Linked DNA regions of Homo sapiens: region 2 is linked to region 1. Evidence: promoter capture Hi-C in human tissues and cell types (Jung and others, 2019). All regions are on one chromosome and are shown on one strand. Each heading gives the region's core, a stretch centred on a gene start or on the middle of the fragment in contact. The rest is flanking DNA. Distances are from core to core; before and after follow the strand shown. Region 1 holds the start of DLEU7 (deleted in lymphocytic leukemia 7). Region 2 has its middle 30 kb from the start of DLEU1-AS1.

The links. Contacts are between HindIII fragments. The study calls those that stand out against the background at their distance.
Region 2: a contact is called between a fragment that was not itself captured here and the fragment with the promoter of DLEU7 in region 1, in 2 of the 25 tissues and cell types used here (IMR-90 fibroblasts and mesenchymal stem cells).

Annotation. Positions count from the first base shown.
Region 1 is chr13:50,839,678-50,847,297 of GRCh38, forward strand. DLEU7 (deleted in lymphocytic leukemia 7) reads right to left here and starts at 4,015. Exons shown (of 2, transcript NM_001306135.2): 1 at 3,511-4,015. The coding sequence starts at 3,969. It overlaps DLEU7-AS1 (DLEU7 antisense RNA 1), which reads left to right. Exons shown (of 5, transcript NR_046551.1): 4 at 351-417. RefSeq lists an enhancer at 2,945-3,871. The HindIII fragment of the contact is 10,732 bases long and covers 1-7,620 here.
Region 2 is chr13:50,553,286-50,560,905 of GRCh38, forward strand. No RefSeq gene overlaps it. Among named protein-coding and RNA genes, the nearest start is that of DLEU1-AS1, 30 kb to the left of the region's middle. The HindIII fragment of the contact is 5,884 bases long and covers 1-5,824 here.

The DNA.
Region 1 (7,620 bases), core at 2,765-5,264:
GTTCCAGAAAAGCAGACACAGAGTTCATGGATCATATTCATTAATATCAAGAATAGAATTCACAAAAATAACAGTCAATAAGAATTCATGAGGCATCAACCTGTTAACAGTAATAATAATGATAATCATAATAGCTCAAATAGATGGAGATTAACTTTGGGAAGCCACTGACTAAATGCATTATCTCAGTAACCCTTTAGGTTAGATACCATTGTCCTCACTATACAGGGAGGAAACTGAGGGACAGAAAGGCTAAATAACTTACCCAAGGGCCAATGACAGGAAGTGGAAGAGTAGGTTTGAAATGCTCCATGGGACTTGACTGCTGTGCTATGCTCTCTCCACTGCAGGATCTCTAATGCCTGTCATCTGCGCCATGGGCTTTAGTTCAAGTGAGTCTTCCTCCTACCTTCCGTGGTAAGTAACACCACCAAAGAGATCTGATGTTGGGGAGGTTCCCACGTACTTCTAGGTGATACAAAATAGTTATTTCCATTCCCGGAAATCCTCCTGCAAGGATTTCTGAAACCATTCTATTGTATAAAATCTGTATGTTCCCAATTTAAAAATATACAAAACACCCTTCCAAGTCATTTGAATTAACACTAGTATTAAGGAAGCTAAGTCTGCATAACCAGCCCCCTGGAAAGACAGAATGCCATCTCCTCAAGTCTAAGTGCTGTGTAATCATTACTCTACAAACCAAGTGGAGATATTACCTATTCTGCAAACAGCAAACCAAGCAAAATTCCTAGGTGCTCCCAAGGGAACAAATCATGCAGAGAAACTGCTCTCTGCTTCTCTCGAAAGCCCTCGCTGTTCCCAGGGGCCCTAAAACTCATTATCCCCCTGCGGGTGAACAGCAGACTCCAGTAGTTGTATACTTCTAGAAAGTGGAAGCAGTACATCTAAATGTTTTCAAAGTTTGCTCATGACAAGGAAGGGAAGGATGGGGACTCAAGGGCTGGGTAAGTAAAGAGTGTTATGGACCAAGAGGGTCAGCAAAGAGGGGGCGGTAGAAAATGTAAGGAGAGAGAAAATTGATAGAAACAGGTCCAGGAGCAAGTGAAAGATTTGCTCCAGTGGAATTAACATGAATATACATGGGGATGGGGGGGCAGCACTTGAATTTTAGAAACAAAAATGAAGATGAGTAGAAATGCAATTTTTTAGGTAGAAAGATATTTCTGTCCACTGGCCTCTATTTTCTCAGAAAAGGTGTGAGCGGGTTGAGGTTTGGATGAAGAAGGCTTGAGGAGGATGGAAAATGTTTAGAATCAAAAGTCAATTAGAAAGGGCTAAAAGGATTTCCAAGTAGAAGTGACTGTGGCATTAAGCTAAAATGGCATAGTTTATAGTGGACTGCTTCCAGAGCAGAGGACACGGGGTTTAGTCCATTGCCACTGAGTTGGGTCAAGCCCTTAGACAGCTGTCTTCTGACCTGACTTTCAAACTGAAACCTACCCTTCTGTGATTTATCCAGGCTTCTGTGATTTACCTACCCTCTGCTTGCAAGACAATCCAAGGTCCTCAGCATGACACACAGGCCTTTCCCTAACTGGCCCCCATTTGTGTCTCCAGCATCAGTTTTTGCCTTCTGCCATATTGAACTTAACTGTAGTTCCTCTAGAGCCTCAGTCCCTTTCAGTGCTGCTGGGCCTTAACCAAAGTATTCTCCTGAAATATTTTTCCCTTTAATGTCTGGAAAATAACATGTATTTTTTTTTTAAAGGCTGCCTCCTCTGAGAAGCCTTCCAGGGTCACCTTAGGTAAAACTGATTGTCAGTCTCTCTTTTTGCCAGCCTTACCTATGCCCTGTATGTGCTACTGACATCACAAGTCACTTCATATTTCATCTATTTTAAAATGCACTTTTATTCACATTTTTTAAAAATCCCTGAAATCAGCCAGATGTGGTGGTACAGGTTTGTAGTTGCAGCTACTGAGGAGGCTGAGGCAGGAGGATCACTTGAGCCCAGGGCTCGAGGCTGTAGTGTTATGATCGCACCTGTGAATGGCTACCACACTGCAGCCTTGGCAACACAGGCAGACCTTGTCTCAAAAAAAAAAAAAAAAAAATCCCTTAAATTAGCATGTAACTTATAATCAATGGTGTATCATAGTTCAATGACAGGATTAAAAAAAATTTTGGTGATACCAAAAAAAAGTACATCTTACATTGGAGAGCATTTGGTGAAATGCAGCTTCATTTTCTAACTTTCTAAAGTGAGTGTAGGAGTGCTTCTCATCTTGCCTCCCACCCCACCGCCCCCGCCACCTTTGGCAGTGTCTGGAGACATTTTTGGCTGTATCAACTTGCGGCGAGGAATATGCTGCTGGCATCTAACAGGTAGAGGCGAGAGATGCTGCTAAACATCCTCTAATACACAGGACAACCCCCGACAACAAAGAATTAGCCAGGTCAAAATGTGAATAGTACAGAGATTGAGAAACCCCTACGTAGAGAAACAATACCTATTTGGGTATATAATAGGCTTTATTATGTTTGATTTTAAATAAATCTTTTACAGTGTATAGTGCAACTTAATGTATAGCAACTTTTTCCAAACCTTGGCTTGTACAGAATAGCAACTCTTGAGACATATTCTAAGCTCTCCTCATCACCCCTCCCCAACTCCTTCTGCTAGATGCCCCAGGGAAATAAAATACAGCAATGCTCCTGGTCAAAATCTGAAAGCCAGAATGTCTCAGAGAGATTCGTGACCTTAAACCAATTAGGTTAGTTAATGGCAAGTCCAGGACTGAAACCCAGACCCCCAGATTTCCGCAATCTCACTCAGCCTGGGAGACAGCTGCTCCCTTCCCGGGCTAAATTGGCTAACACAGTTTGGTACCTTAAGAGGAAATGTGCCCTACCTATATGAGCTGGGTGACTTAGCAAGAGTTTAGCATTTAGTATTCACGCTTTAACACCCGGGACCCACCCAGCTCTCACCCCACTTTATGAGAATGTAGGTTGACTCTGTAAGACCCCTTAGCTCTGTGGGGAATTGGATTTATGCAAAAAATAATAGTGATTCATGAATGTGAAGGAACTTTAAATAAATGTAGATGATTTCATCATACAAAAGGCAGAAGGGACTTAGTAAGTGTATTTAAGGCTCTGGAGGAAGCGTTATTAATTTGGAAAGTGGGTGGGGGGAGCTGTCCTCTATCCCTACAAGCTGCACGTGTGGAAAGGGCCTTTCTAGCGCAGGAAGCTGATTTATGTGAGAGAGGAAGGAGTTCCAGGGGGAGGTTTTGGCAAGGCAGTCCCCACATCTCGGTTGTGCCAGCCAGGCGGGCCTCAGGTGGGTCTGGGGCTCCCTGCCCCTCCTGCTGAGTCCCCAGAGTGTCCCCCGCCCCCTTCCTTCTCCCACTGGGGCTGAATCACAGTGGGCAGCAGTGTTTGGGATCCTGCGATCCACCCATCGCCATCCCAGCAGCCCCACCCTTGGAGGATGGGAGGTTACCCTGCACGCCAGAGGGGATGGCGGGGGCCAGACTCACCTTCAGGTGAATGGGAAAGGACCGCTCCTGCTGGAGGGGCCCCAGCAGCGTCTGCTCCACGCTGACCAGCTCCGAAGTCGAGTCCACCACGCGGGCCAGCGCGCTGCGCATCGCCATCTGGGCCAGGGTGCAGGGCCCGCGGTCCCGGGGGAAGGGCAGCAACTCGGCGCCCCCCTCAGCGCCTCGCACTACCTCCTCCTCTGGGGAGTTCGCCCGCGCCGCGGTCCGCCGACTCCTGGTCCCCACGCCCCCGCCCCGCTCCTCGCGCCCGGGCCCCGGCCGGGCCCGCGGCGGGCCTGAGCGACGGGCTGGAGCGGTGGACACGTGGTCTGGGTCCCGCGGGTTCCCGGGGGCGACTGGACCGTCCCCCCAGCCCCACTCCTGCTGCAGCAGCTGCAAGGTCTGCAGAGCCACCATTTGGTGGCTGATGGAGGCCACTAAGGGCGCAGGGCTGGCCATCGCCTCCGCTGGCGGCCCGGCGCGCTCCGCGTGCAGGTGGAGCAGCAGCGAGGGAGGCGGGGGCGTTGGGGTCGCCAAGGTCACATTTTCTAACCCGCGGCTCCTCGGCCTCTGGGTCTCACAGCGTGTGTGGTCGGCCCCGCCCCCGGCTCTGAATCGGTGACCCGTGCTGGCCTCTGCCTTCGCCTGAAGTCCGAATCAGGCGTGTTCTGACCCAAAGCTGCCTGAAGCGCTGCTCGGTGTGCACTTGAAAATCAGCGAAATGCTGAGCGTTGCTTCTTCCCTCTCTCCAGGGCTTTGATGAGAAAACGTGCTGCTTTGTGCGGGCGCATCCATCGGCGGGGATACCCCGCCCCCACCTCCTTCGAAGGATGCCTGCCAATGACCACTGAGGTCTGGGAGGTGGGGGTGCAAAAGACCCACTCTAGGGCAAAAGTACGAAGGGCTCTAGAAAAACTTGCAAAAGGAAGACTGTGCCTTTCCCAACCCGAGGGGAATTTTCAGAAACTTGTTGAAGCAGCCTTCAAGGCCTTGCATCCCCCAAACAAAAGAAGGAGGAGTTGTGTATCTGGAAGTTCTGCTCTTCTCTGCTTTGCTGGGTGCCACTTGAGCACCGAGAGCCTGGTGGCTGAACTAGCATCAGCAAGCCTCAAGGCCCAGGCCTGGCACTGCCCAGAAAAGCCTAAATGTTTTTTTGTGACACTCCCAAAAGACTTAGGCAGCAAGGTTGAAGTTAATCCTTTTATGAGCCATGAACTTAGGGACAGCTGTACAAATAGTTGCTGTTTTTAATTAAACCCAACATGGCTACTTCCTTAACTTAGAAAAAAGCGACTAGCAATGTTATGCTTTGATAGATTGGAAACCATGGGTGTGTGATCACACTTAAGAAAATAGAAGATATTTGAGAGGAGTGGTATGGAAAACCAGTCCGGAGCAGCATTGTTCCTGCTTGCTTTCTGCAAGGAAAACCACTAGACAACCCAACAGCCCAGTAAAGCCAGGGCAATGGTGCATGCCCACGACAGACAGGTGGGCCCTGGCAGACCTGAGGATGGAATTGCATTACTCCTTTGGGAGCCAGACTGCACCCTTGGTGCTGTGCAGATCTGGAGAGGCTTTTGAGTGAAAAGGCCACACTGGTTAGTCTGTGAGCACAAAAGGATCATCAGAAGAGATATGGAGAGGGATGTTGGGTCCTTTAAGGTTTCCTTAACCCTGGGATAGTATGACCCCATATAATCCTCCCAACTTGCCAGCAAAGGTTCCTTCTCCTTCCCAGTGCTTTCTTCGCCTATGAAAACGAATCTGAATGCCAAGGTAAAGAAAACCTTTCTTAAACAAAAACGAGTATGTTCACACTAATTATAACTAAGTAAAAATGCACGTCTGTGCATTGACAGAGAGGAAATTACTTTGGAGGGAAGTAAATAGTTTAATGTTGATTAGATTTTTTTGCCATGAAGTTACTTAAGTTCATAATAAAAAATAGAAAGAAAAAAATTTTCTTTTTAAAAAAAGTCTTCAAATGTTGAAATATATTAGGTTCAGCAGAGACTAACCAGCAATAGCAAAAATGAACCCCTAATTTTCACAGAGCATGTCAGATCTCTAGGGCTGCCTCTCTTTCCAGATACACAGGAAATTCAGTTTCATGGGCTAACCCTTCCACTATCAAATGGCTGACTGCAAAACTTTCTTGACAGTTGGAATTGCAGCCAAGAGCAGAATTGAAATCACTAGACACAGGCTGACCTGAGGCCCCACTCTTCTACATACCACACTGAGTCAGAGCCATGAGACCAACTGAACCTCAGGGGGCATGACAGAAGGGTGCCAGAAAACCTTGGGGCCTGAGGGATGGCACATGCTGCTTAAATTGCTGCCTGCTTTTTCTAGTATTCTTAGGAAGCCCTGGATCATCTGGCAACTGAGTGTTTTGTCTGTTTTGGCTGTGGGTCGCACTGTGTTTTGCTATGATCTCAAAATGGCTTGTGTTCCAAAGCTAGAGATATGAGAGCCTAACTCAGGAAAAATTTTCATAGTCTATTTAGATGAGTCAATAGCATAGCAGATCTACCTTTGGTCTAAAACACCTCCGTAGTTACGTTTGCTGGGCTACCAGACGAAGTAACAGATAGCCTACTTCTTACCCACTGTACTCACGATTTGAGGCCATTCTGTAATAAAGGGCACATTCAAAAGGACAAAGTATTAGATATCTGATATGTTTGTTTCACAACATATATTTCACTATTTTATAGAAATCATACCCTCATTTCTCAGTAGATATGCCTTTTCCTCCACACTCTGCCCGTGAAGTCAGATGGGATGAGCCCATCTCACTGCAGAAGAGTACTGGATCATCTAGCCTAAGTCCCATCACACATCACATCCCCACAGTGCATGCATGGTCAGGAATGGGCACATGACCCAGCTAGAGCCAATGAGACAGTATCTTTTAGGATGCTTTCAGCTGAATGCACTGTAAAAGAGAAAACAACAGATGCAAAGAGTACAGGCCAAAAAAGAAGTGTAGGCCAAGAGATGAAACAGCAAAAGATCAAATTCCCTTTAAACCAGAAAACTCAACATAACATAGTTTAATCAATAAGAATAATTTATTGTCTCACATCACAAGAAGTCCAAAGGCAGAGTGGCTCCAGAGTTGGTTAATATAGCAGCTCCTCAGTGTCATCAAAGCCCTTTGTTCCTTCCTTCTTTCTGCCATGCCATTCCCAGCACATCAGCTTTGTCCTTAATTTTTGGGCTAGTTCTCCTATGGCTACTAGCAGCTGCTGGCATCATGTCTAGACAACAATAACTAGAAGAAAAGGCCATCTTTTCCTGTGTATTCCTTCTCAAGAGCAAGGAAACACTTCTCAAAAGCCTTCAGCTGGCTTCCTCTCACATCTCCTTGACCAGAATTGTGTCACATGTTCTTGCCTAATTAATCACAGTCAAGAGGAAAGAGGCTACCATGAGAGTCTAAGGTGAACTAGAATTCAGTGTAGGAGTTGGGGCTGAGCCTAGCCTCTCTCAAAGCAATTGGTGGAGGGAGGATGAAAACTACTTGATATGAAGCAAGGTTTTGTTACCAAGCATCAGCAATGGCAACAGAGAACAATGAGGATTTTGCAGGGGTTTCCAGGTAAAGAATATATCAGATTTCCAGGGCTGCTTCTCTTTATCAATACACAGCAAGTCCAGTTTCATGAGGCTGATCTTTCTACTGTCAAATATCTGACTTCAGTGACCCCTGTGCAAGTAAAGCTGAGAAGATACAAGTTCTGGAGCCTCTGCAGCCATCTTGTGAGTTTGATGGGGACAGCCCGCCTATGAATGAGCCAGCACTCATGGAGAGAAGACGTTCATGAAACAAAAGCCAACAGATGTATAGAGAGAAACCGTGGCTGTATAGCAGCATTTGAGGTCCACATTTAGCAGCACAGGAAGTCAGCCCCACCTCTGAGCTTTTCAGTTATACGAGCCGATGAAGTCTCTTTTTGCTTAAGCCTCTTTGGATTGGATTTACTGCCTACTGCAACAGAAGGAGTCACAGCTGAAGCAAATAGCCTGACATATGTTATAGGAAAGATGGCATGTTCATGGAGTGACCCTGTGACCCAGTGCCCCTTAGGCAAGGCACTG
Region 2 (7,620 bases), core at 1,633-4,132, 290 kb before region 1:
CTGATCTTATTTCCTTCCAGGGTCTTAAAAATAGATGGTACAATTGACCCTTAAGCAACATGAGTTTGAACTGTGTGAGTCTACTTATACATGGATTTTTTTCAATAAATATATTGGAAAATTTGTTGATGATTTGCAACAGCTTGAAAAAAGTTGCAGACAAACTGTGTAGCCTAGAAAAAGGGGTATGTCATGAATCCATAAAATATATGTAGGTACTAGTCTATTTTGTGATTTGCTACCATAAAATATACACAAATCTATTATAGAAAGCTAAAATTTATTAAAACTTATGCAAAGAGACCATACATGGCACCATTTACAGTAGAAATATTTAAAAGTAATGATGCAGTGTTAAATCATAGCTGCATAAAATTAACTGTAGTACATACTGTTCTATTATAATAATTTTGTAGCCACCTACAGTTGCTATTGCAGTGAGTTCCCCTGCTGTGAGTATTCGCTTAAATGCTGTGTGATGCTAAGGAATTGTGTATCAAAGTAAAAAGTGATCTCTTTGGGTTCTCCTGTACATTTCATCATGTTTGGTACAATACAGTAAACCTTGAATCACACCATAGTGATGCTGGAAGTGCTCCCAAGAAGCAGAGAAAAGTAATGACAGTACAAGAAAAAGTTGAATTGCCTGACACATACCATAGATTGAGGTCTGCAGCTGCAGTTGCCCACCATTTCAAGATAAGTAAACCCCATGTAAGGGCCATAGTAAAAAAAGAAAAGGAAATTTGTGAAGCTGTTGCTGCAGTGACACCAGCAGGTGTGGAAATCTTGCACTTTTGTGAAATACTTTTAATCTTGTATTGAAAAATGTAGCTTTAGTGTGGGTGCAGGATTGCTATAAGAAAGTCATACCTATAGACTCTAATATGTTTAGAGAAAAAGCAATGTCATCATGTGACAACTTAAAGCAAAAGGAAGGTAAAGGATCTAAAGCTGGAGAATTTAATGCCAGCAAAGGATAGTTTGATAATTTTAGAGAGAGGTTTGGCTTGAAAAATATCAAGATAGTAGAAGCAATTTCTGCCAACCAAGAGACAGGAGACCAGTTCCCGTATGGTATTAAGAAAATCCCACTTGATCATGGTGGATAAGCTTTTTGATGTGCTGCTGGATTCGGTTTGCCAGTATTTTATTGAGGATTTTTGCATCAATGTTCATCAAGGATATTGGTCTAAAATTCTCTTTTTTGGTTGTGTCTCTGCCAGGCTTTGGTATCAGGATGATGCTGGCCTCATAAAATGAGTTAGGGAGGATTCCCTCTTTTTCTATTGATTGGAATAGTTTCAGAAGGAATGGTACCAGTTCCTCCTTGTACCTCTGGTAGAATTCGGCTGTGAATCCATCTGGTCCTGGACTCTTTTTGGTTGGTAAGCTATTGATTATTGCCACAATTTCATATCCTGTTATTGTTCTATTCAGAGATTCAACTTCTTCCTGGTTTAGTCTTGGGAGAGTGTATGTGTTGAGGAATGTATCCATTTCTTCTAGATTTTCTAGTTTATTTGCGTAGAGGTGTTTGTAGTATTCTCTGATGGTAGTTTGTATTTCTGTGGGATCGGTGGTGATATCCCCTTTATCATTTTTTATTGTGTCTATTTGATTCTTCTCTCTTTTTTTCTTTATTATTCTTGCTAGCGGTCTATCAATTTTGTTGATCCTTTCAAAAAACCAGATCCTAGATTCATTAATTTATGAAGGGTTTTTTGTGTCTCTATTTCCTTCAGTTCTGCTCTGATTTTAGTTATTTCTTGCCTTCTGCTAGCTTTTGAATGTGTTTGCTCTTGCTTCTCTAGTTCTTTTAATTGTGATGTTAGGGTGTCAATTTTGGATCTTTCCTGCTTTCTCCTGTGGGCATTTAGTGCTATAAATTTCCCTCTACACACTGCTTTGAATGTGTCCCAGAGATTCTGGTATGTTGTGTCTTTGTTCTCATTGGTTTCAAAGAACATCTTTATTTCTGCCTTCATTTCGTTATGTACCCAGTAGTCATTCAGGAGCAGGTTGTTCAGTTTCCATGTAGTTGAGCGGTTTTCAGTGAGTTTCTTAATCCTGAGTTCTAGTTCGATTGCACTGTGGTCTGAGAGACAGTTTGTTATAATTTCTGTTCAAATTTACAAGAAAAAAACAAACAACCCCATCAAAAAGTGGGCAAAGGATATGAACAGACACTTCTCAAAAGAAGACATTTATGCAGCCAAAAGACACATGAAAAAATGCTCATCATCACTGGCCATCAGAGAAATGCAAATCAAAACCACAATGAGATACCATCTCACACCAGTTAGAATGGCAATCATTAAAAAGTCAGGAAACAACAGGTGCTGGAGAGGATGTGGAGAAATAGGAACACTTTTACACTGTTGGTGGGACTGTAAACTAGTTCAACCATTGTGGAAGTCGGTGTGGCGATTCCTCAGGGATCTAGAACTAGAAATACCATTTGACCCAGCCATCCCATTGCTGGGTATATACCCAAAGGACTATAAATCATGCTGCTATAAAGACACATGCACACGTATGTTTATTGCGGCACTATTCACAATAGCAAAGACTTGGAACCAAGCCAAATGTCCAACAATGATAGACTGGATTAAGAAAATGTGGCACATATACACCATAGAATACTAGGCAGCCATAAAAAATGATGAGTTCATGTCCTTTGTAGGGACATGGATGAAATTGGAAATCATCATTCTCAGTAAACTATCGCAAGGACAAAAAACCAAACACCGCATGTTCTCACTCATAGATGGGAACTGAACAATGAGAACACATGGACACAGGAAGGGGAACATCACATTCTGGGGACTGTTGTGGGGTGGGGGGAGGGGGGAGGGATAGCATTAGGAGATATACCTAATGCTAAATGACAAGTTAATGGGTGCAGCACACCAGCATGGCACATGTATACATATGTAACTAACCTGCACATTGTGCACATGTACCCAAAAACTTAAAGTATAATAATAGTAAAAAAAAATAAAAATAAATAAATAAAATAAATAAAAATAAAACTTTAAAAAAAGTTATCTGAAAAGGAAAAAAAAAAAAAAGAAAATCATTGAAGAGAAAGGATATCTGCCCAAGTAGGCTTTTAATACAGACAAAAGTGCCCTATTCTGGGAAAAAAGAAAAAAAAGCCACAAAGGACATTTATTAGTAAGGAAGAGAAGTGAGCACCAGGATTTAAGGCCAGAAGGGTTAGGCTAACTCTACTGTTTTGTGCATATGTAGTCAAGTTTATGACCGGGCTGCTCTTATCCAGAAAGTTGCCAATCTCCAAGCCTTGAAGGGAAAAGATAAACACCAGCTGCCAGTCTTTCGGTTGTACAACAAGAAGGCCTGGACAACGAGAACTCTTTGTCTGGATTAGTTCCAACGATGCTTTGTTCCTGAAGTCAGGAAATACCTTGCCAGTAAGGGAGTGCCTTTCAAAGTTCCTTTGATAATGGACAATGCCCCTGGCCACTCAGAGCCTCATGCCTTCACCATTGAAGGTGTTGAGTGGTCTACTTGCCCCGAAGCACAATGTCTCTAATTCAGTCTCTAGATCAAGGAGTCATAGGACCTTTAAGCCTCATTACACATGGTACCCTTTGCAAAGGACTGTCAATACTGTGGAAGAGAGCCCAAGAGAACATCATGAAGGTCTGGAAGGATTACAACGTTGCAGATGCCATTGTTGTTATAGAAGAAGCCATGAAAGCCATCAAGCTTGAAACAATAAGTTTCTGCTGGAGAAAACTGTGTCCAGATGTTGTGCATGACTTCACAGGATTTATGATGGAACCAACCCAGGAAATCGTAAAAGAGACTGTGGATAAGGCAAAAAAGGTGGAAGATGAAGGGTTTCAAGATATGGATCTTGTTTCTCCAATTATCCAATTCTATAGCTAATAGACACCACACCAGAGAAATTAACAGAGGATAACTTGATGGAGATGAGTGGTTCTGAACCACTGCCAGGTGATGAGGAAGATGACACAGAAGCAGTACCAGAAGACAAATTGACAGTTGACAGTCAGGCAGAAGGGTGATTATTCAAGACTGCTTTTGACTTCTTTTACGCATGGACCCTTCCATGATATGGGCACTAAAACTAAAGCAAATGGTGAAAGAAAAATTGGTACCATAGAGAAACATCATTTTTCAAGAAATGGAAAAGCAAAAAAAGTCAGGCAGAAATTATGATGTCTTTCTGTAAAGTTACACCAAGTGTGCCTATCTCTCCTGTCGCTGTCACCCCTGTGGCAGCAAGACTAACCCCTCATCTTTCTCTTCAACCTACTTAAAATGAAGATGAAGATGATGAGGTTGGAGATCTTAATCCACTTAAGTGGACTACTTCCACTTAATCAATAGTAAACATGTTTTTTCTTCCTTATAATACATATGTACTGTATTTTATACTGTATTTTTATAAGAAAGCGCAAGCTAGAGAAAAGAAAATATTATTAAGCAAATCATAAAGAAGCAAAAATATTGTCTGTGTAAGGAAATGTAAATAGAAATGTGTTATGTGGACTTCCCAGGAGTTCTTTAAAGGAAGCTAATGGAGAAGAAGGGGCTGCTCTTTCCTAGTTGCCTTTCTTCCTTCTTCTGGCCTGAAACTCCAGCAGCCTTTTCGAAACATGAAGTGACCTTGAGTATGGGGGCCAAGTACTAGAGTGTTGAAGTTTAGAAGCCTAGGTCTCTGATGGTACTGTGGAGTAGCTTCACCAACCTTGAACTGCTTACTCATAATTTGTTGGGTTTTTTCTCTTAACATGAGAAGAAAATTTCTATCTTGTTTAAGCCACTGTTATTTTGGAGTTGTTTATTCCATGCAGCCAAACTATAGTCAAACAGATACAGGATATGTTAGGGATTCTCATCAGGTCCTATAGGAGTTGAGAGCAGAGGGGCCTCAGCAGGAGGCAGGAAAGTCTCTCCAGAGAAGGAAATCCTTGAATGAGTCCTGAAGAAGGAATGGCAGCTTGTCGCAAGGACAAGGTTGGGCAGAGCAGGAAGAGTGATGCATGTTGAAGTAGTGGTCAGAACGGGGATCTGCTGCAGCCTTGGGAGGGAAAGTACCATATTCACAGAGCAAGTTAATTACAGATCAAAAGAAAGAATTCCAGACTTGCTCGATGCTCCCTCTCTTTCTAGCCCTATATCCTCCATGTCAGTTGGCTTTAGTAATCAAAATATTGAAGAAAGTTTAAGATGGCCATGAGCACTCTACCCTGGCCTGAAAATCTAGGTGCTCTTTAAAGCAAGGAAGCAAGCAAGCAAGCAAACAAAGAAAGAAAGAAAGTAAGTAAATAAAATATTTGCAGAACGCCTGCTATGAATAAAACCTTGTACCAGATGCTGATGAAAAAGTGCCTAGGGGATATTAAAAATGAATTAAATAATTCTTGCTTTTATGGGGTTTCATTCTAAGAGTGAGGATGACATCTGCACACATAATAAAAAAGTAAACAAAGAAAAATTGCAATGGGGAATGGGAAAGTGTTGAGTGTGGATTGAAGGGAGGTGGCTTTTACCCACAAGGGTCCAACTGAGAGCTGATGTTTTAAAATTTCATCTCACCCGTAAGACTGAGAGGGATTTCCCAGGGTCTGGGAGCAGAAATCAGAGAAGCAGTAAAGTGGAGGATGTGATAGCTCTAGAGACCACCCTGTAGCACAGTGATGGATGATGGCTTGGCTTCCAGGGAATAAGGTAAGCATGAAAGCCTCTTTTGTGAAAATAGGCTTAGAGAGACTTGCTTATAGCTAGAGGATGCTTCTAGGTAGGAGATGATGCTATGTGCAACCTACATGCAGAAAGATGTTGAAAGAGAGGTCAAAGTTAGGACATGGAACAAAAGCCCTGGCAAAATTCAAGCAGACCTTGACTTTGGGAGAGCCTGGAGCAGACTAAGTAATTGTGAAGTCAGCTGGCCATGTCTCCCCAAAATACTCCTGGTATTTGCTTTTTGTGGTCTGGGATGTCCCAGACTCAACAGGGAACAAGATCAGAAGAAGAAAACAGTGACATTTGTAGCCAAGTATGAGATGAATTTCAGTAACTGGTATATAGTAGGAGAAGCCCAAGTATAGGGGGAAAAAAAAGCATTTATGCCGGGGCTGGGATACCAATTTCAGAAGGTGACTTATCTGAAAATTTATAGGAAGTGCAACAAAAATTTGGTTTTTTTTAAGTCATGGTGGAATGGTGGAGAAAAGATGAAAGGTAGACATCTGCTTTGCTTCATATGCCAAGACACAGCCCTTTCTGCTGCAGGAGAGGACTTTCCAGATCTACATAGTGGTTGGGGGGATAGGGTAGAAAATGAAGATAAATGTACCAACATATCATTTCCAGAACAATTTTATATCCCAAGAAAACTCTGACAGTCTAGGCACCCCCGACTCCTGCAGGAATAATAATGTTAAGAGATTTATTGCTTAGAGGAATGTCTCATATGAACGGATAGCTTTAGGAAAGACAGAGTTTCAGGGTACAGCTTCAGAAGGAGACAAAGCCATGCCTTAGGGCCCCAACAGGGCCTTTGTGGCTTATAAGGTTCCTATGTTTTGGGCCAGGGCCAGCACTCAACCCAGAGCTGTATTGACCCGGGCATGGGATCCTTTGCTTAGAACATGGTCCTGGACTCACCAGAAAATGCTTTTGTCTGAAAGAGCAGAGCCACCAGCATGGGATCTATTGTGGGTAGAGAGACAACCCTCATGTTCCAAAGAAGTTAATACAAACTATATATTGGTTTGCAAGTCAGAAGAAAACACTGCTAGCATCCGCTGTTGCTCTCCCCTTCCCATCTTTTGTCTATGAATATATCAAGGTATGGTGGTTTCATGCATGGATTCTGGAACCAATCTGGATTCTGCTGCCTGCTGACCGTGTGGCCTTGTGTAAGTTACACAGCTTTCCTTGGTCTCAGTCCCCTCCTTTTCAAAATGGCCTGTGTTAAAGGTGCGTGCGTGTGTGTGTGTGTGTGTGTGTGTGTGTGTGTAGGTTTTGAAGTATTTCTAGTTGACTCGTGAGAATTATTTGTCTATTAAGAATACTAATATATTGTCTTCCAGAGGCAGGGTTTTCTGCCACTTAGTTATTTGTTAATGACATTTTCGATATATAGACATTTTAATTCTTTATGTAATCAACTTTACTTTTAGATTTATAGAATTACTTTTTGCCTAGCAAGTTTTCTCCATCCCAGTAGAAACACTTGTATGCCAACTTTATAGGATCATTTTTACATTTAACTTTGTAATCCATTTAGAGATTATTTTTATATAGTGTATAAAGTTCTAAGTAGTTTTTTAAAATTTACTTAGAATAGTTGAATAATTCATTATTTCTCTATTAGTTGGTGGTTCTTTATCAAACATTAAATTCTAATATATAATATAATCTGTTTTTAGCCTTATGATTCTTGCCAATATCACATTGATTAATTAAAATAGTGCTATAATATATTTTAATACTTGGTCATGTAAGTCTTCTGGATTACTTTTCCTTTTCAAAATCTTCTTACCTGTTTCTGCTTGTTTATATATTCAAATGAACTTCAGATTATTTTATTTCTAAATAAATCTCTATTGAACAAAG